Linked DNA regions of Homo sapiens: region 1 is linked to region 2. The links are contacts of gene promoters, found by promoter capture Hi-C in blood cells and fetal thymus (Javierre and others, 2016). All regions are on one chromosome and are shown on one strand. The core of a region is centred on a gene start or on the middle of the fragment in contact, and the rest is flanking DNA. Distances in the headings are between cores, read along the strand shown.

What was found. Contacts are between HindIII fragments. The CHiCAGO score rates a contact against its expected background, and 5 or more counts as called.
Region 1: a contact is called between a fragment that was not itself captured here and the fragment with the promoter of RTN1 in region 2, in 1 of 17 cell types (M2 macrophages). The highest score is 5.6, in M2 macrophages.

What each region holds. Positions count from the first base shown.
Region 1 is chr14:59,590,838-59,595,635 of GRCh38, forward strand. No RefSeq gene overlaps it. Among named protein-coding and RNA genes, the nearest start is that of CCDC175, 16 kb to the left of the region's middle. The HindIII fragment of the contact is 3,436 bases long and covers 1-3,320 here.
Region 2 is chr14:59,867,944-59,872,582 of GRCh38, forward strand. It overlaps RTN1 (reticulon 1), which reads right to left and starts at 2,833. Exons shown (of 9, transcript NM_021136.3): 1 at 2,447-2,833. The coding sequence starts at 2,687. RefSeq lists a silencer at 2,742-2,841. The HindIII fragment of the contact is 1,996 bases long and covers 1,431-3,426 here.

The sequences.
Region 1 (4,798 bases), core at 353-2,852, 280 kb before region 2:
TGTAGAGCTTTGGAGAGGCACTGTGGGTGAGGACTGGCCAGGTATTCCTCCAGAATGTTCTGCTGAAAAGATGAAGCACTGCTCCAGAAAGCTGGAGGCAAATCTGTGTACCCCATTTCGTATGTTCTTCCCTGTTCATTTCTCTCTGTCTCCATGACACACACACCCTTTTTATTGACTGGCCCTGGATTTATAAGTCAAGGGAACAAAGACAAAAAAGAGAATTATCTATTCACTACTTGAATTTTGACAAAGTACATTTTACCTTCACCTTGATTCATAAGCCAAACATAAGCATTTCCTCCATTGAGCTTATTAAGTACTAGAAAAATGGCTGGGAGATGCTAAAACCATATTTTATTAAAAGACAAGTTAAATTTAATTTTAATAATACATTTAAGAAAGCAGTCTTAAATATCTTGATTCTGACATGTCAAATGCATCATGAAAAAATCACTTTGGGGAAGATATAATTCAATGTGATTGTTTTGTTACAAAATGCTAGTTACTTAAAATGTTTGAATATTTTTTTAAAAAAGGTTAATGTCTCGTCCATTATATTTGGCTACCTTATTTCTGTTAGAGATGGCTAGAAATAAAGGTTGAAAAAAAGTTACCCTTCATATGAACTGTTTAATTTTTGAGTATTATTTTGACATAGGCTGCCATTAGTCACTTAAGAATTTGACTCCTGTCATAATTTAGTGATGACTTCTCTTGTTTTATAAAGACATAAACATACAAAGCAAAATCCAGAGCAGTTGTATGTTTAGAGAAAGCAGGCCAAGATGAAGTGTTAATTCTTCAGGACCATTTTATCATTTTAGGGAGAAACTGTTGCAGGCCGAAAGTGTGAGGGTTGTGATCAACTCAGTATACCACTGGAGGCTGTATGAGTAAACAGCAAACTGTTCTCATAAATGCAGAATGTTGGCAAACTCACAAACTGCATCTGCCACCCAGAAGGAATGCTGAGGGCAGACATGACCCAGGCACAAGTGTTTCTTATGATTAGGCAAATCCAAAGCCTGTTAGCAATAATATGCACCTGTCATCAATCAAGCAGCTGACCAATCGTTAGCTCCTCCTCCCTGCTCTTCCTACCCAATAAATACGAAGGGCTGTATAAGCTCAGGGCTGCTGCCCTTGCTCACTAGAAGCAGGGAGCCCTCTTCTTCTTCCCCTGGCACCTTCCTTTAAAACAGTTTCTTTTGTTTTTTTGTTATTATTTCTACGTTCATCCCCCTTCATTCAGTCTCGTAATGATGGTCTCAAGTAGTAACAGTAGTAACTGTCATAGTGATAGTCTCAAGTAGCAATTGTGGCAGTCTGCCACAAGAAACCAGAGACAGCTGATTCTAGCAGAATTGCTTTCAAAGACAATAATGGTCTAGAATGCAAATTAATTCATTTCAATGTACTCATCAAAGAAAATGTGGCCAGCCAGACTGATTTTGTAACATAGAATTTAATATTAAATGTATTGAATTAAGGAAAATTTAAAATCATAAAATAAACCACAAAAATAAAATTATACAATAAAAATCTGATTAAGGAGCTTGAGGAGGGTGCCAACATCAAGCACTAGGGAAGCCGGTCAGCGTCTGAAGGCAGGTGGCCCTTCTGCCTGGATCAGCAGAGGGGACTTAGTCCCCCTCCAACTACGAACGCATTTGGTATGAGCTCCAGTGGTGGCTCCTCTGTCTCCCCTACGTGCTTCTCTGCACACAGAAGAGAGTGCTAACCTTCTGATGCTCAGAGCAGCCCTATTCAAGGACAATGTGGTGATTGCTGGAACCTCACAGCTGTGAAGCAAGGCCCAGCAATCAACCACACCCCACGTGCATTTGGGTGAGGTAGAAAGCTGTGGGACTACTTCTCAGCAGTGATTCCCTAGAGAGAGAAACAAAATGCAGAGATAGGTTTGGGATCTACACCAGGAGGAAGTCTTTATAATAGGGTAAGGGACCATATGAGCCCTGAGGTAGTGTCAGGTGGAACTGTGCACCACCCTTAAACCAGATATGTTGAAGCCCCAAACCCCTGTACCTCAGAAATGTGACCTTACTGGAAACAGGGTCTTTATAGAGATAATCAAGTTAAAATGAGGTCCTTAGGGTGGGCCCTATTCCACTACGACTGGTGTCCTTATTCAAAGGGGAAATTTGGACACAGAGGGAAGACAATATGACACAGGGAAGCGGCACCCAGTGACTGGAGTATCCCATCTGCAAGCCGGGAGCACCAAGGATGGCTGACAAATGCAGACATTAGAAGAGGCAAGGAAGTGTTCTCCCTTAGAGCCGAAAAAGAGAGCAGGGCCCTGCCAACACCTTGATTTTGGACTTCTAACCTCCAGAACAGTGACAGAATAAATTTATGTTGTTTTAGGAAACCCAGATTTTGAGGCTGGGCCTGATGGCTCACACCCGGTAATCCTAGCACTTTGGGAGGAGGCTGAGATGGTGGATCACTTGAGGTCAGGCGTTTGAGACCAGCCTGACCAACATGATGAAACCCTATCTCTACTAAAAATATAAAAATTAGCTGGGTGTGGTGGCACGCGCCTGTAATCCCAGCTGCTTGGGAGGCTGAGGCAGGAGAATCACTTGAATCCAGGAGGTGGAGGTTGCAGTGAACTGAGATTGTGCCACTTCACTCCAGCCTGAGAGTTTAAAAAAAAAAAAAACCCCAGATTTTGATACTTTTGTAGAGTAACCCTAGGAAACTAACATGGGTGGGGAAAGAGCAGAGGACATAGAAACTATCATGCTTTATCCGTTAGAATACTGCAGCTTCTTCATTTGCTCTTACTGCTTTCACTCATCCATATATGGGCTGTAAGAATTTTCTACTGTTCACAGCTTTCAGAATCACCTCACTCACTCTGGATTTTCCAGGGGCTCTGCTCTTGGTCCTCTTCTCATCTGTTCACATTATTTCCATCATCTTGAATATCACCTGGGCTGATGCTCCCTGTAGAAACAGGGTATAATGTGCCCCATGTTCCATTTGTGAAAAATCTACATCCATACCTACTATTTTGGAAGCCTGGAGTTTCCTTAGGAAACTTCTCCACCACTGCCAGCAAAGAGAGTTCCTAATTAGACCTTCCTAATGAGCAGCTGCCTGTGAGAGGAATTCTGGGTCTATAGTATGAGGACAATGTTGCAGATACAGATATTGAAGATTAATTCTATACAATAAAGCCATGTAGAAGAAACTTTGTCTAAAAGGTTGGAGGCTGAAAAACATAAAGAAAAAAGAAAATCCTCTTCTAAATCTAGTAACCATTAAAAAAAAAATCAGGCACCAAACTAAGCTTAGTATCTTCTTTCCCCAAATAATCTCTTCTGGGCTCTCTGTCCTGGAAAATGGCATTGCATCCTGCTGATCAGCGAGTCTTAGTGCTGGGCTAGGGTGAGGCAACCGAGCTTCCTTGGGTGCAAAATTCAAGGAGGCACTCATTCTCAAGGCCAGCTTTCATCTTGAAGCCCCGCAGCTAGTTGGTTACCAGCTCCAGTCCAATCTCCCTCCACATCATCTGTTAGCTGCACCTTATCCATGGTGGGTGCTTGGCATGCTGGGCTATCAAGGATCAGGGACAGGTGAACATCTTTCTATTCTTTCTGTGGCTGTTCTAGTAAAGACCTAGTCATTTGGCACCTGGGTGGAGTTAGGTTACAATTATCACTCTATTTGTCTAGCCTTCAGTATCTTGTACCTTTGTTGTGTCTATGTGACTCTCTGAGATGTAGAGAATAAAGCCCAAACTCCTTGGCACAGGCATCCAAGTTTCTTCCCATTGTGATCTCAACCCACCTTTCCAGCTTTATCTGGCACTATCATTCCCACCCCAAGAACTTTACAACCCATCTAAGCTTGTTTAACTCACCATTCTCTGCATATGCCTCACACTCCACATCTTGGCACTTTAGCTCATGTTCTTTCTTTATCTCGGGCTGGACCTTCTTCATGTGGCAAAAACCAAACCAGGACCCAGCCGTGAAGTTCACCTCCCCTGAGAATCTTCTGTTGCTCAAACCCTGCATCATGGCTCGTTTTTTTTTTTTTGGAGACAAAGTCTCGCTCTGTTGCCCAGGCTGGAGTGCAGTGGTGTGATGTCAGCTCACTGCAACCTCCGCCTCCCAGTTTCAAGCGATTCTCCTGCCTCAGCCTCCTAAGTAGCTGGGATTACAGGCAGGTGCCACCACACCCAGCTAATTTTTGTATTTTTAGTAGAGACAGGGTTTCACCATGTTGATCAGGCTGGTCTTGAACTCCTGACCTCGTGATCCTCCTGCCTCAGCCTCCCAAAGTGCTGGGGTTACAGGCGTGAGCCACCGCGCCCTGCCAATGGCTCTTGTTTTATGCTACCCTTTGCTCAGTTGGCATTTCCACATAGCCACCTGCCCTTTCCCCAGCACAGTGATGAGAGTTTCTGGCTGTTGGCACAGTGCCAAGTGACCCTTGTAACCTTCACGCCACTTTGTATAGAAGGATAACTCCACAAATATTCACTGAACCCAGGTGTAAAACTGGTAAAAGGCAGCTTTTTATAAGCAATCATTCCTTTTTTTCTCCAACTGCTACTCCTTTCATTCACTTCTACCTCTTCGTCTTTGATGTTTGATTGTAGCAGTGAAACAAAATATGCAATTGGACTTGTATAAAAAGCAGTGAGGAATTATTAGAAGACTTCACATGGTGAGGGCAGGAATTGTCATCTTTCTTATTCACAGCCCTATTCTAAGTGCTTGGCACACAGTCAGTGCTTAATAAGTAATTACTAAAACGG
Region 2 (4,639 bases), core at 1,583-4,082:
TTTCTCAGCTTCTAGCACTGTGAGAAAATAAATTTCTGTTTATAAGCCAAAAAAAAGTAAATTAAGAAATACAGTGTAAAGTAGTGTGCTTAATAGGCATCTCTGATACAATTGAGGGCTCACCTGCTAACTTTGCTTATAGCAATAGAACTGCCAAAATAACAGACCAGGAAGCTGGACAAGATTTGTTTGGAATTTTAAGATCTAGTTATTTATTTATACAGCATTTCTGGCGTTTGAGTCTCTTATAGCAGCACATCCGGTCTACTTAATAAGAAACACAGAGATTTAAGACATTAACCAATCAACAACTATATCAGAAATTCCTTCTAGCCACAATCATAAACTAAAAAATTTCTATATAAATATGCAAAATATGTGCTCCTTCCATCTTTCTTCATTCTTCTCCCATCCAAACGTAGTATCATGTTTGATTTTATTACTATATTTGTTGCCTAGGATAGAAAACCCCAAACACATTCAATAAAGCAAGGTATTTCTATAATAATAATACTAAAAATGCAAAATGCATTGTTATTTACTACAGCCACCTTTCTGTAACAATGCACTGTACATTTTGAAATTGCTAAAAGAGTAAATTTTAAACGCTTTTACCACAAAAAAAAAGTACATGAGATGATGGATTTGTTAGCTAATCATTTGACAATGCAGACATATGTCAAAACATCACACTGTACCCCACAAATATATATTCTAAGCATTTCCTATATAATAACTTTTGTGGATATGTTACTGAGCATGGGGCACTTAGCTTCCTTTTTCTAGTTCACATAATCTTAGTGGCACTAATAGGAGGTGGGTAATGTTTCATAAAGAAACAATTTACTTTGATTACAGTGGATAAAGATTCTGAACTATGAGCAGTCTATCCTCAACAAAGAATGGTAAAGACAAAAACTACCTTCCTTTGTCTATTATCATTTGCCATCTTCTTTTGCAATTATAAAGAGTTTTGTTTTCACTTGGATGCAGAAGTTGAAAGAGAGACTGAGCAGCCATTCTTAGATTTAAATCCTCCCCCACTCCTAGGGATATAATAATTAATATATAACCTTTGGCGTTTGGCGTTGGGGCTTTTGAGTACTTTTCTTTCTTTCTTTTTCTTTTTTCTTATATAGGGTCTCCACTTTTTCTCTTCCTTTCAGGATATTGACAATTTTTATTCAACGCATTCTCCAAACCTCTTTTCCCCAGCTCAGATCTTCTGTACCAGGGCAGTTAATTACGATTACCTTAGACATTCCACATAACCCTTAAGAGAAGCTTACGAAAAGGGGTTTCTTTAAATCAACCACCAAGAGCACACACACCAGTCCCACTCCCCTTCCCCTCCTCTGGGAGCACCCCCCACCCCAGGCCTTCTAGCTCTACATTGCCAAAACTACACAACTCCCACTCCACCATAGCAAAGCTTTCTCAGGAAAGAGCACCACACAGCATCCCCTTTCCTCTCCCTGGAAACAGCGTTAACCAGGCCGGCAGCCTCAAAGCGCGCTTCCTGGATCCTTTGACCAGGATGCGCCAGGGGCCTGGGCTCCCGCTGGACACTGGCGCGCTCAGACTTTGAATAGGGCGTCAGGCGAAGAATGGCCAAACCCAGGGCAATTTCCGGGGTGGGGGGGGGGGGGCGCTTAGACTGCTGGTAAACTGTACCACGTCCACTCACCACCACCCAAGCCCTCCAACCCACAGCCAGGCCCGCCGCACTTAGGACTTGAAGTTTCAATGCTCCCTGCAAGGTGGGGCCATCCGGGCAGCGGCGAAATACAGGTTTTGGGCGGGGGCAGCCACAGCACCCAACCCTCTTGCAAAGCTGTGCCTCCCGAATTAGGGACAAACTCCCTGGGATTTGTTTTCTGCGGGAGAAAAGGCGGAGGGATGTGGGGGGAGTAAGGTGTGGTGGCGATTCGTGGAGGGCAAGGGTAAGGGGCAGTTACAGCCACATCTCTGCCCTGGACAGAGCCGGGTCCAGGGGCCGCGGGCCTGCCCGCCGCTCGGTTGTCAGCATCTCCTGTAGCCGGCGCGCACACTGCGCGCAAACACGCCCCCCAAAATCCCCACAACCTGTCAAACGGGCCCTACAGCTCGGAGCCTCCTGGCAGGAGGGAGAAACTTGTACCCAGACTCGCCAGCAGCCAGAATGCTGCTGTTTGCCTATGAGAACAATTTTTAAAGCGGAAATAATCATGATAATGAAATAAAAGGATCAAAAGCATCTTGACTTTTTCTGAGCCTTTGGGAAAAATAAAATTGTTGTTTTCTACCAGCCCGCGAATATTCCCAGTCGCCCGTGGCGACGCGGGGGTGGGGTCGGCGCTCAAGGCAGAAAGCGCGAGGCAGGTGCCCAGGAGAGCCGCGCAGAAGGGGACTGACTGGGGGGCCCTGGTCCCCGACGCCATTTGAGGGGCAGCGGCGCCCGCCTTACCTGTGGATGCAGTTTCCATGGCAACGGGCGACTGCCGGGCGGGGCCCGAGCCGGCTTCCCGCGACGCCGCTTCCCGGGCCCTGGCGCCCAACCCCGGGCTGGGCTCCCCAGCCTGCGGCGCCGGCGTGGCCCCTTTCGGCGTCACCGCTTCGTTCTCCCCCTCCCCCCGGTGCCTGAGCCACTGGGACCCGGGGCCGGCCAGCGGCAGCAGCTCGTCCTGCGGATCCCCCGGCGCGGCCATGGCTGGCGGTCCCCCGGCGCGGCGACGGCGGCTTGGCTGGGCAGAGGCTCGGTGGCTGCGCGGGCGCTCCCTGCTGCTGTCCCCGGAGGGACTCGGCGCTCAGGGAAGCTGCGGTGTCTCAGCGTCGCCGCCGCCTCTGCTGCAACTCCGCCGAGCCGCTGCCTGCCGCTCTTCCCGCTTCAGCTCCTCCTTCTCCCCCCTCCTCTTCCTCCGGCCCCGCCGCGGCCGCTGCCTGCGCTCCTCCTCCTACTCCACTCGCTGCTGCCGCCGCTGCTTCGCTATTCCCAATCCTGTTATTACGCAGGTGAAAATGGCCTGCTTGGTCCGGGTCCTCCTGGGCACGTCAGCCCCCAACCTGCAAATGGCAGGCCCCGGTTAGGGGATGTGCCAAATCCACTCGAATCTTCCTCTCGTTTGGGGAGGAAAAAAAAGGAAGAACCAGCAAGTAGCAGCAGCCACCAGCAGCGTCGCCTTCCCAACTGAGAAAGTTAAGCCCCGACTGGTGTCCTGGGTCCCGAGGCAAAGAGGGAAAGCTAGAGAACTCAGGGCCACAGTTCTGAGAGTGACCAGTATGAGTTGTGGAGGGGACACAGGTCTGAACGGGGAAGGGGTGGAGATGGGTTCTGATGGCAGATGGAGACCAGGGAAGCTGCAACCCCGCGGTTAAATCCTGCGTTTCCAGAATGGGCCTGAAAATAGTGGAGTAAAGAAATGAGTTATCAGGACAGCCTCCAAAAAAAGCTTAACAGATCTCACCCTGACCAGCCCTGAGGGCAAACAGGGTGTCAATAGGCAAGGACAAAAGCTGTACATTTGCTTTCAGAAACACTGAGCCAAGGCCATCCTAATCATAAGCTGTCTGTGCAGTCCGTTGTATTTCAGAATTTGGACATTCCATGAAGCTTGCATCTTTTTCTTTACAGTTCACTGTGATAAAATGGAAGATAGTCAGCAAATAAACCCAAACTCAGAGGAGGAAAGTGACTTGCCTTATCATATGTTGTGCCCATACGAAGACCCATCTTTTCAAATGTCTTGTGTTTTATTGGTTCCCAAGTTGTTTATATAATAAAATAATGTGCCTTTAAAAACTAAGATTCACCACAACACACAGGGTGAAGGAATAGGTTTTTCTGCTGTTTCTTCTCTAGGAAAGGTGGGCGCAGACGGTACCGCACACACTGTGAGACTGTGGGACTCTTGGCCACCATGCGCATCTTGAGGATTTCATACCTGTCCATTGGTATATTCAAAGGCCAACTTCAGGACCATTCAGGTGCTCCTCAATAATGCTAAAATGAAAAAGCCCAGAGTCTGCCTAATCTTTTGTTCTGCTAGTGCACTAATGTTCAAAAGATGACAATAAATTAGAGAAAAATCATTCACTAAACAATAAATATGGCCTCCTGAAGCCAGATATCCCTGGAAATCTGATGGTCACCAAAATTTTACATTTTTGACATACTCAAAATTATGTCTCATGATGGAAATATTCACTATCTAGATTGTGGTTATAGCTTCACAGGTGCAAACATATGTCAAAACTTATTGTTTACTGTAAATATGAACAATTTAATGTGTTGTCAGTTATAACTCAATAAATCTATAAAAATAATCTCATCCAAAAACAACAAAATAATTGGTTATCATGAATCATAATGATTTTTAAACATCTTTCCATGGGAAAACAAGAGTGTATTTAAAAAACCGTTAAGTTGAAAAGCTTATTCCACTGCTGTATTTCCATGGAGCTTAATCCTGTCTTGTAATTAGAGGGCACTTGTAAGTTTTTTCAAATCTATTACTTAGTATTCCCTAAAGCATCAGAAATACTAGATGGGAATTTCTCATGGTTTTATTACTGATAACAAGACAAGAACATAGACAATTCTAATGATATAACCTTAAAGTGGTTATTGATGAATACTAATATTTGAGAATTGCTATGCAAA